Linked DNA regions of Homo sapiens: region 2 is linked to region 1. Evidence: promoter capture Hi-C in 16 types of primary human blood cells and fetal thymus (Javierre and others, 2016). All regions are on one chromosome and are shown on one strand. The core of a region is centred on a gene start or on the middle of the fragment in contact, and the rest is flanking DNA. Distances in the headings are between cores, read along the strand shown. Region 1 holds the start of RARS2 (arginyl-tRNA synthetase 2, mitochondrial). Region 2 holds the start of MDN1 (midasin AAA ATPase 1).

What was found. The method cuts DNA at HindIII sites, captures the fragments that hold promoters and counts their contacts. A CHiCAGO score of 5 or more calls a contact.
Region 2: the fragment with the promoter of MDN1 here is called in contact with the fragment with the promoter of RARS2 in region 1 in 1 of 17 cell types (fetal thymus); the score reaches 6.8 in fetal thymus.

Annotation. Positions count from the first base shown.
Region 1 is chr6:87,588,133-87,593,042 of GRCh38, forward strand. It overlaps RARS2 (arginyl-tRNA synthetase 2, mitochondrial), which reads right to left and starts at 1,855. Exons shown (of 20, transcript NM_020320.5): 1 at 1,790-1,855. The coding sequence starts at 1,825. ORC3 (origin recognition complex subunit 3) reads left to right here and starts at 2,003. Exons shown (of 20, transcript NM_012381.4): 1 at 2,003-2,060. The coding sequence starts at 2,037. RefSeq lists enhancers at 985-1,946, 1,710-1,939, 3,320-3,820, 3,821-4,321. The HindIII fragment of the contact is 3,839 bases long and covers 1-3,548 here.
Region 2 is chr6:89,817,480-89,822,389 of GRCh38, forward strand. It overlaps MDN1 (midasin AAA ATPase 1), which reads right to left and starts at 2,315. Exons shown (of 102, transcript NM_014611.3): 1 at 2,027-2,315. The coding sequence starts at 2,128. RefSeq lists enhancers at 1-152, 773-1,392, 1,969-2,358, 2,013-2,632, 2,633-3,252 and 1 more. The HindIII fragment of the contact is 1,090 bases long and covers 1,968-3,057 here.

The DNA of each region.
Region 1 (4,910 bases), core at 605-3,104:
ATCATGGCACTATCTTTACTTAAGGGCTAAGAATGGAAAACGTCCACCCTTACACACAGCTTAGATACTAAGGTCCAAAACTACCTTCCCTGATATGGTTTACTGTCTACATTAACATGAATTTATTATTTTTTGTCTTCATTAGCATAACTTTACTGTTCTAGAAGACTTCTGCCCAAATAACTTAATCATTCATTATAAGAACTTCATGAGAAATCTATTAGCTTTTCACGTTTTTTATTTTTATTTTTTGTTTACAGGGTCTCGCTCTGTCACCCACCCTGGAGTGCAGTGGCACAATCATAGCTCACTGTAGCTTCAAACTCGTGGGTCCGTCCAAGTGATCCTCCAGACTCAGCCTTTCAAGCAGCTAGGACTACAGAGGTGCACCATCATGCCTGGCTACTTTTTAAAAAAAATTTTGTTGAGACGGGGTCTACCTATGTTGTCCACGCTGGTCTCGAACTCCTGGGCTCAAGCCATCCTCCCACCTTGGCCTCCCAAAGTGCTGGGATTATAGGCATGAACCACATGCCAGGCCTATTAGTTCTTCCAATAGAAAACCTCAATAGTTTATGCCTTAAGGCTTCTTGCACTCTTTGCTTTTCCTATCAATCTTAAACCGCTGTATCAGATCAGAGTCCAACCCTAATCAAGCCATCTTCCTCCAACACCCTCCTACCCTCTCCCTCTGAAAGACCAGCCTTAAGCCATACCCATCAGTAAAATCTGACCTTGCTTTCCCAGTTTAATACACTACCAAAGCTCTCAGTGGTGTTCTTCCTTATCCCAGTGAGCAATAAATTCAGCTGTCTTAACAAAATGTCATGTTGGTGATATTTGGCGAATTATCACCGGACAGGGCAGTACATCTATAAACATAAAGACAAGGCAGAGGGATTTCCCCACAAATGTCTAGAAATACTGTAAAAATGAGCCAAGATAAATTATACACCAGGCTAATTACGTCCACTAGTACATCCATTAATCAGAAGGAAATGGGTTAGCCAAGACCACAATAGAAAGTTTCCTTGCAAGGGTGGCCAATGAGTCTTAAAAATTCTTTTTGATTAATTCCACATTTATACTGCAATTTTGCCCAGCGCGGTGGCTCAGGCCTGTAATCCCGGCTCTTAGGGAAGCAGAGGAGGGAGGACAGCTTGAGCCCAGGAGTTTGAGGCCTGCCTGGGCAATACGGCGAGACCCCGTTCTCCACAAAAAGGAAAAACAAAACAAAGCAATTATATTGCAATTTTGTAAGCCCTTCCTCACAACAGAGCTGTTCAAATACGACCCTGAACCAAGAAAAACTGAGTCTCAGATAGCTCTTATATCTTTGGGCGTTACCAAAAACAATTCTAGGGTAGGCTGCCTAAGTGACTGCAAGAGAAATAAGCAGCTTTAAAATGAGGTCCTTCTGAAGAACAATCCAGATCCATCATCAATGTCACTAAAGTGTAAAGAACACTAACTTCTATGGGGTCTAATCATGGTCTAATGACTTGCCGCCACCCAGGTAAAGCATTCATAGCTGTGGGGTGGGAAGGAGAGAAGAAAGCACCAGGTACCTTTCAAAGTTTACTTTTCACCGAGACAAACTGATCCCAGCCGACGCTCCACAGGACTTCTGAAGCTCCACCAGCTCCAGAGAAGGGGGAGGAGGTGGTAGAAACTAACAGGATTCCGTGGGACCCACCCTCCAGCTGACTGAGGACTGGCCCGCAGCGGTGAAAGGCCTTTGGGGTCCCTAGCTCCTCAGGGACTCCTCTGCGCGCTCCGGGATCCATACCTGGCAAGCAATAGCGCGGCGAAAGCCGCACGCCATGTCCACCTCTACGGAAGTGCGCCGCAGTCCGCCAGTTCCGGCCTCGCCCCACCTCCTTATACGACCCGCCTCCCCGCGCCGGAAACCCGCCCCGGAGGGTGATGCCAGCCAATCAAGGAGCCGTGTGGCTCGCCACTAACCTCTGCCCTGCAGCCGCGAGGGCGCGCGGGAAATCCCGAGTGCATCTGGAATACGCAGAGTCAGTAAGACCATGGCTACGTCCTCGATGTCTAAGGTATGTGGTGGCCGATGCGCACTGTGGCTCTACCGCTGCCTCATTCCCCTTTGAAGAAGGGATGAAGCCGAGGTTACGTAGGCATCCCTTCCCTGGCTGGAGAGGAGGGAGGGAGCGGCGTACTGAGCTGAGGCGTCCTTGCTCCAGATCAGTTGAGGCCAACTTTGCTTGGGGAGCGAGGACGCGGATCTGCCTTGTGGTATGGCTAGGAGGATTTTTAAGTTCTGGTTGGTGGAGGTCGGATGTCCTGATGATGTGGCCCAGTCTCTCATTTTTCCATCTCACAAATACTGTGCGCCAAGCACTCCGTTAGGTACCAAGATGCAGTGGTAAACAAAACAGATTCAGTTTCTGCAGTCAAGAAAGTCGGTAAACATAGATAAACTGACGATCACAAATTTTAAGTGTTAGCAAGGAAAAGAGTTCTAGGCAGACAACAGAAGAGTGGGAAGAACCTAATATAGGTTGTCGGGGGTTAGCGGAGGCTTTTTGGAGAAAGTGACCCTTTCGCTGAGACCTGAAAAATGAGTAGAAGTTAGGTTAAGGATTAGGGCGAGGAGGGCAGAGAGAACAGCATGTTTCTTCGGCCCAGAAGATAGAAATAAAATGGCATATTAGAGGAATTTAAAAATCATAATCAGAAAGTAGACAAAGAGTGGGAGCGTCATGAAAAATGAGAATGAAAAAGTAATGTGGATGCGGGTGTGTGTGGTGGGATATCTTATAGACCTCCTCATGTTGGCTACCTAGATGGCAAGAAATTGCAAGACATAGTGTAGTTGGTAAGAAGATAAGCCCTAGAGCTGTATTGTCCAATGTGTTAGTCACTCACCACATGTGGCTATTTAAATTTGAGTTAAAATAAAGTAAGATTAAATAAAAATTCAGTTTCTCCGTTGCACTAACCACATTTCAAGTGCTCAATCATCACATGTGGCTGCAGCTACCATTTTAGATAGTGCAGATATAGGACATTTCTATCATTACAGAAAGTTCTGTTGGACAGCGCTGTTCTGGACCACAAAAAGTAAGACCTTGAGTTCTATTGTAAGTGCAGCGGGAAGCCCCTGAAGTTAAGCTGTCTGAGAAAGCTGAAAAATGCACATGAAGAAGCTACATTCTCCCTATGTTAAAACAATGGATTGATGAAGAAGGCTATGTCATGGATCTGATTTTTTATTTTGATTAAAACGGTTTATGAGAAGCAGTGCTTTTAAAGACTACATCTCAAGGAAAAAGGACAAGCCCTGGGGTTTAAGGTTATGCTAGTAGAGATTCAAAGGTAGTATTTTTATTAGAAATGGTACTGGTTTTATTTTGTCCTGGTTATAATGTTCTGTAGGTTTTGAATGGTCTATCCCTTAATCCTGTTGATTGCATAAGCACCTCTTATTTTTATGTATCTTGCAGAAAGTAAGATTTTTCAGGAAAGCATTTTTGGTATTATAACAAATGTCTGTATTGGGATGAGACCTTACATGAATAAGAAGCTTTAAGAACTATTTCATGAATTTATGGAACTGCAAGCTTTTTTTCTTTTTCTTTTCTTTTTTTTCTTGAGACAGAGTCTTGCTCTGTTACCAGGCTGGAGTGCAGTGGCGCGATCTCGGCTCACTGCAACCTCCACCTCCCCGATTCAAGCTATTCTCCCACCTCAGCCTCCCGGGCAGTTGGGATTACAGACATGCCCCACTACACCCAGCTAATTTTGTATTTTTAGAAGAGACAGGGTTTCACCATGTTGGCCAGGCGGGTCTCGAACTCCTGACCTCGAGTGATCCGCCAGCCTCGGCCTCCCAAAGTGCTAGGATTACAGGCGTGAGCCACCACGCCCGGTCCTTAAACATATCAAAACATTTTAGTGTCTCTTTCATCGTGAAATTTTCTGGCTGTTGGCCTTCCTCTATCTCAAACACCATCACTTGACCAGCAGTTCCAAATGGTTAACCATGTTACTACCACTGCCCTATATTAAGATCCTTTCTGATCACTCCTCATGTCTTGCTCCTTTGAAGCTCCTTTTTCCTTTACTGAATTGCAGGTGGATTTGGAAAGGAGGTAATGACAGGTTTGTCATGGTATCACATGATTTTTCTAAATATGTATGTGATTTCGCACACTTCTGCTAGTTGCAGATATAAGAATATAAGGCACAGGGCTGTGTGCAGTGGCTCATGCCTGTAATCCCAACACTTTGGGAGGCCGAGGTGGGTGGATCATCTGAGGTCAGGAGTTCGAGACCAACCTGACCAACATGGTGAAACCACATCTGTACTAAAATACAAAATTAGCCTGGCATGTTGGTGGGCGCCTGTAATCCCAGCCTCTCAGGAGGCTGAGGCAGGAGAATCGCCTGAACCCGGGAGGTAGAGGTTACAGTGAGCCAAGATTGTGCCATTGCACTCTAGCCTGGGCAACAGAGGGAGACTCTGTCTCAACAATAGCAGAAAAAAGAATCTAAGGCACAGTTCTTAAATGGGAACATGTAATCCAAATGGCTACTTTATAGTTGCACAGCGGTCTTTAACACTATCCTGAGACAACTTTTCCTAGGTATCGTTCTTTCATTCTGTCTTTTATTTTCCATAGAAATCGAAATATTTAAGAAGTTATCCATCAGGCCGGGTGCAGTGGCTCATGCCTCTAATCCCAGCACTTTGGGAGGCCGAGGCGGATGGATCACGAGATCAGGAGTGCGAGACCAGCCTGGCCAACATAGTGAAACCCCGTCTCTACTAAAAATACAATAAATTAGCCAGGCATGGTGGTGGGCACCTGTCATCCCAGCTACTCAGGAGGCTGAGGCAGGAGAATGGCTTGAACCCGGGAGGCAAAGGTTGCAGTGAGCCA
Region 2 (4,910 bases), core at 1,065-3,564, 2.2 Mb after region 1:
AAGATTAAGAGGAAGAGGAAAGGGTAAAGTCAGAAAAGTCTTCCTGGGGAAGACCATTTCAAAAGCAGTCTTCCAGAACAAACAAGTTAACTGAGCAGGGCATAGAAGAGAGATGTAGCCTTCTAAGGAAAGGAAATGCAAAGTCAATGAGGCAAGTAACAGCAAGGAATGGCCCAGACAATAACAACAGACATTAACAACGGGAGGTGACTCCAGTCAACAATAGTAGAGGGTAACAACCTGTGGTCATTGCAGGCAGTTTAGTGTTGCTGAAATAGCAAGCCCTGAGCAGAAAGTAAACAACCAGTCTGGGGCAGGGTTTCTTTCTTAATTTTGCACCACTGCCATTTACGACGGATAACTGTTGTAAGGGGTTGTCCCATACATAACAGAATGCTTAGCAGCGTCCCTGGCCTTGATGCACTAGATGCTAGTAGCACCCCCATAATGAATAGTTGTGATAACCATAAAGGTCTCCAGATTTGTCCCTGGGAGCAAAATTGGCCCCACTCCCCAGAACAATTGGGCTTGAGATACATCAAAAAAAATACTTCAGGGCAGGGCGCTGTGGCTCATGCCTGTAATCCCAGCACTTTAGGAGGCCAAGGCGGGTGGATCACCTGAGATCAGGGGTTTGAGACCAGCCTGACCCACACAGTGAAACCCTGTCTCTACTAAAAATACAAAATATTAGCCAGGCATGGTGGCGCACGCCTGTAATCCCAGTTACTCGGGAGGTTGAGACAGAAGAATCGCTTGAACTCGAGAGGCGGAGGTTGCAGTGAGCTGAGAGGGTGGGCCATTGCACTCCAGTCTGGACGACAGAGCGTGCCTCCGTCTCAAAAAAAAAAAAAAAAAAAAAAAAAAATTTAGGCCGGACACGGTGGCTCACTCCTACAATCCCTGCACTTTGGGAGGCCAAGGCGGGATGATCACTTGAGCCCAGGGGTTCCAGACCAGTCGGGGCAACAAAGGGGGACCTTACAACTACAAAAAAAAAATTTTTTTTTTAATTAGCCACACCTGGGACCCAAGTACCTGGGACCACACTCACCTGTCCCGTGGCTCACGCCTGTAATCCCAGCACTTTGGGAGGCTGAGGCGGGTGGATCACGAGGTCAAGAGATCGAGACCATCCTGGCCAACATGGTGAAACCCCGTCTCTACTAAAAATACAAAAAGTAGCTAGGCATGGTGGCGCTCGCCTGTAATCCCAGCTACTGAGAGGGTGAGGCAGGAGAATCGCCTGAACCCGGGAGGCGGAGGGTGCAGTAAGCCGAGATCGCGCCACTGCACTCCAGCCTGGCGACACAGCGAGACTCCGTCTCAAAAAAAAAAAAAAAGTGTCTTCAACTCAGATAGAAGGAGTCAATGAGAAGGTTCTTAAAAGCCCGAAGACCTATTTCCCAGAAAACTCTAATTAACCTTATAATTTGTATAGTTAGTTACAGTGAGTATGAGCTGTCTTGCTCTGTACTTCAGCTGTTGTAAGTGTTTACGAACTGTCTCCAAAAACAGATGCAAATTTCCCTCATGGCAGAGATCGTAACGAATTTATCTATCCACTTTCTCACAGCGCCACACCGTTCCTTACGCACAGCAGGAATGCAATCAGTATTTGTCGATGGTTCCCCAAACTAACAGGAGTGGCTGCACTACGCACACTTAGGTGATACGTACACTTGTCAAAACGGCAGAAACGCAACCTCAATTTCAGAAAAACAAACCACATTCCTTTGGGAAGGCCACCTCTGCCACAAGCAGCCAAAGCGCTTGCATAGGGGTGAGAGGCGATGGGAAGGGTACTGGAAGGCTCCCCCAGATAAAAACAAAAGACTCCTTCCAATCGCCTCAAACACGCTCGGAAACCTCCACGACCTGCGCCAGCCCACAGGAGGGGGCCAGCTTGACCTGAGGCTGCACCACTCCCCACTTAAAGCGGCGAGTATCGGCGGGGGAGCGCAGGAAGCTTACTAGTGGGGCGACCCAGTCGTTCCGGCGCTTTCCCTCTCCCTTCACGTCTTACCTGCTTGGCCAAGAACCTGCCCAACTCACTGCGGCTCTTCTCGTTCTTGGCTGCGATTAACCGCAGCGGCGCGGCTGCCACCTCCAGCAAGAAGTGCTCCATGACCCAGGGCCCTCACCCCGAGCGGCCACCTGCGCTCCCTACTTCGCGGCCAGCGTCCCCAAGCCGCCGAGGTCCCAGTGCCCGAGCAGCCAGCAACTACGCCCGCAGGAAAGGCGTCCTCAGCTCCAGCGCCTACACCGGGAGAGGGGCACCACACGTGGGTGAGCACACGGCGTTTGACGTCATCAGCTCGGGACGGCTACGCTGCGCCCTCCCGGCCTCAGCCCCTCAGCGGCGGAAACGCCAGTCTTCGCTGTCCCGCCTTTTCCGGGAGGGAAATGGAAACAAAAATCTAGTCGGTTTGGATGCAGGAGTGATGGGGACTCGCGAACACAGCACGTGGTGGGACAGAAAGAAGAGTGCGTTAGGCCGGGGAGGAAAGAGGGGGCGTGTGAGTCTCAGCCCACCGTGCCTTGCTTCTGCCTTAACACACGGAAAGATCAGATGTGAGAGAAAAGCTGATTCTCGGCCGGGCGCGGTGGCGCATGTCTTTATCCCAGCATTTTGGGAGGCCGAGGAGGGCAGATCACTTGAGGTTAGCAGTTCGAGACCAGCCTGGGCAACATGGTGAAACCCCCTTCTCTACTAAAAATACAAAAATTAGCCGGGCGTGGTGGCGCGCGCCTGTAGTCCCAGCTACTCGGGAGGCTGAGGCAGGAGAATCGCTTGAACCCGGGAGACGGAGGTTACAGTAAGCCGAGATCGTGCAGCTGCACTCCAGCCGCGCGACACAGCAGACTTTTACTGTCTCAAAAAAAGAAAGAAAAGCTGATTCTCCCCTTCTTGTTAGCGGTGGCAGTTACCCCCTGTATAGGTAGGGGTCAGCAGTAACCTTAGTTCTTGCCTCCTCAGAAGAAATAATTCCACGAAGGGCATAAGGCAGGATAGACCTAGACAAGTTTCAGAATAGAAGTAAAAGTTTATCAAAAAGCTTTAGAACGGGACGGAAAGAAAAGGAGGAAAGTACAACTTGGAAGACTGCCAAGCAGGCGACTTGAGAAACCAAGTGCGCAGCTTGACCTGTTGACTTGAAGTTTTATATGTTGGCATACTTTGGGGAACTTGCATTGCTTCTCCCCACTCCTGAGATCTTACTGGGAAGCTACTGATCAGTTTCAGGTGTTTTCTATTAGGAGACTGCCTTTCGCTGGCCCCGGTGAACGTTAGAGAAACAGTTAAGAACCGCCTGACCATCGTTTGATTGTCACCCAATAGTCCTGGTATGTGTGGGGTGGGGAGCGCTCTCCTGTTCTGCTCATACCTAACTAGTTAACATTCTGCCCCAGCAATTCCCCTTGTAGGACTCTAGCCTGCGGAAATCCTCACTAAGTGTGACAAAGACACCCCTTGCAGTTTTCTTAATACAGATATTGGAAGAAAATGTTCAATTGGGAATATTAAACTATGGGGTGTAAGTTATAGCATATTCTGGAAGTCATAAAAAATAGTAGAGTCCATAACATTAAAAGTGCACTTGTGGGCTGGGCGCAGTGGCTCAAGGCAAGGCAGGCAGATCACGAGATAAGGAGTTGGAGACCAGTCTGGCCAACATGGTGAAACCCTGTCTCTACTAAAAATACAAAAATTAGGGCTGGGTGCCTTGGCTCACGCCTGTAATCCCAGCACTTTGGGAGGCCGAGGCGGGCAGATCACCTGAGGTCAGCAGTTTGAGACCAGCCTGACCAACATGGTAAAACCCTGTCTCTACTAAAAATACAAAAATTAGCCAGGTGTGGTGGTGCATGCCTGTAATCCCAGCTACTCAGGAGGCTGAAGCAGGAGAATCGCTTGAACTCAGGAGACGGAGGTTGTGGTGAGCCGAGATCGTGGGATTGCACTCCAGCCTAGGCAACAAGAGCGAAACTCCGTCTTTTTTTTTTTTTTTTAAGTGGGGCCAGGCGTGGTGGCTCACGCCTGTAATCCCAGCACTTTGGGAGGCCAAGGCGGGCAGATCACCCGAGGTCGGGAGTTTGAGACCAGTCTGGCCAACATGGTGAAACCTTGTCTCTACTAAAAATACAAAAAGCTGGGCATAGTGGTGGGCGCCTGTAATCCCACCTACTCAGGAGGCTGAGGCAGGAGAATAGCTCGAGCCCGGGAGGCGGAGGTTGCAGTGAGCGGACATCGTGCCAGTGCACTCCAGCCTGGGCGACAAGAGCGAAACTCTGTCTCAAAAAAAAGAAAAAGACAAAAAAAAAAATGTAGTTATGTAGTGATAATGCACCCTGGCAACTATTCTCAGGAATCTGTTGAAAGAGATGCGCCCTGAAAAAGGAGGATAAAACCAAGAAAGAAGACGACACGGGATCCAGGAAATAAGAGATTTAGCACAGAAAGAAAAAGTAAAATAACCCTGTCGATCGTAATCCTAATCCACGGGATTATTTTACTTTTAAGTGTTTAAAGTTAAGGGAAATCCCGGAACTTTCATCTGGGCAGCAGCAGGAAGATGAACAGCTCTAGGGTGATTAAATTAATAGAACAGGTTAGTGGTTGCCTGAGTTTGGGATTAGAAGAGAAGACAATGTAAACAGCCAGGAGGCAAAATTTGGGGGTAATAAAAATCTAAGACTGGGCAGGGCACAGTGGCTCAAGCCTGTAATCTCAGCACTTTGGGAGGCTGAGTCGGGTGGATCACAAGGTCAGGAGTTCAAGACCAGCCTGGCCAAGATGGTGAAACCCCATCTCTACTAAAAATACAAAAATTGGCCGGGCACGGTGGCTCACACCTGTAATCCCAGCACTTTGGCAGGCCAAGGCGGGCAGATCACCTGAGGTCAGG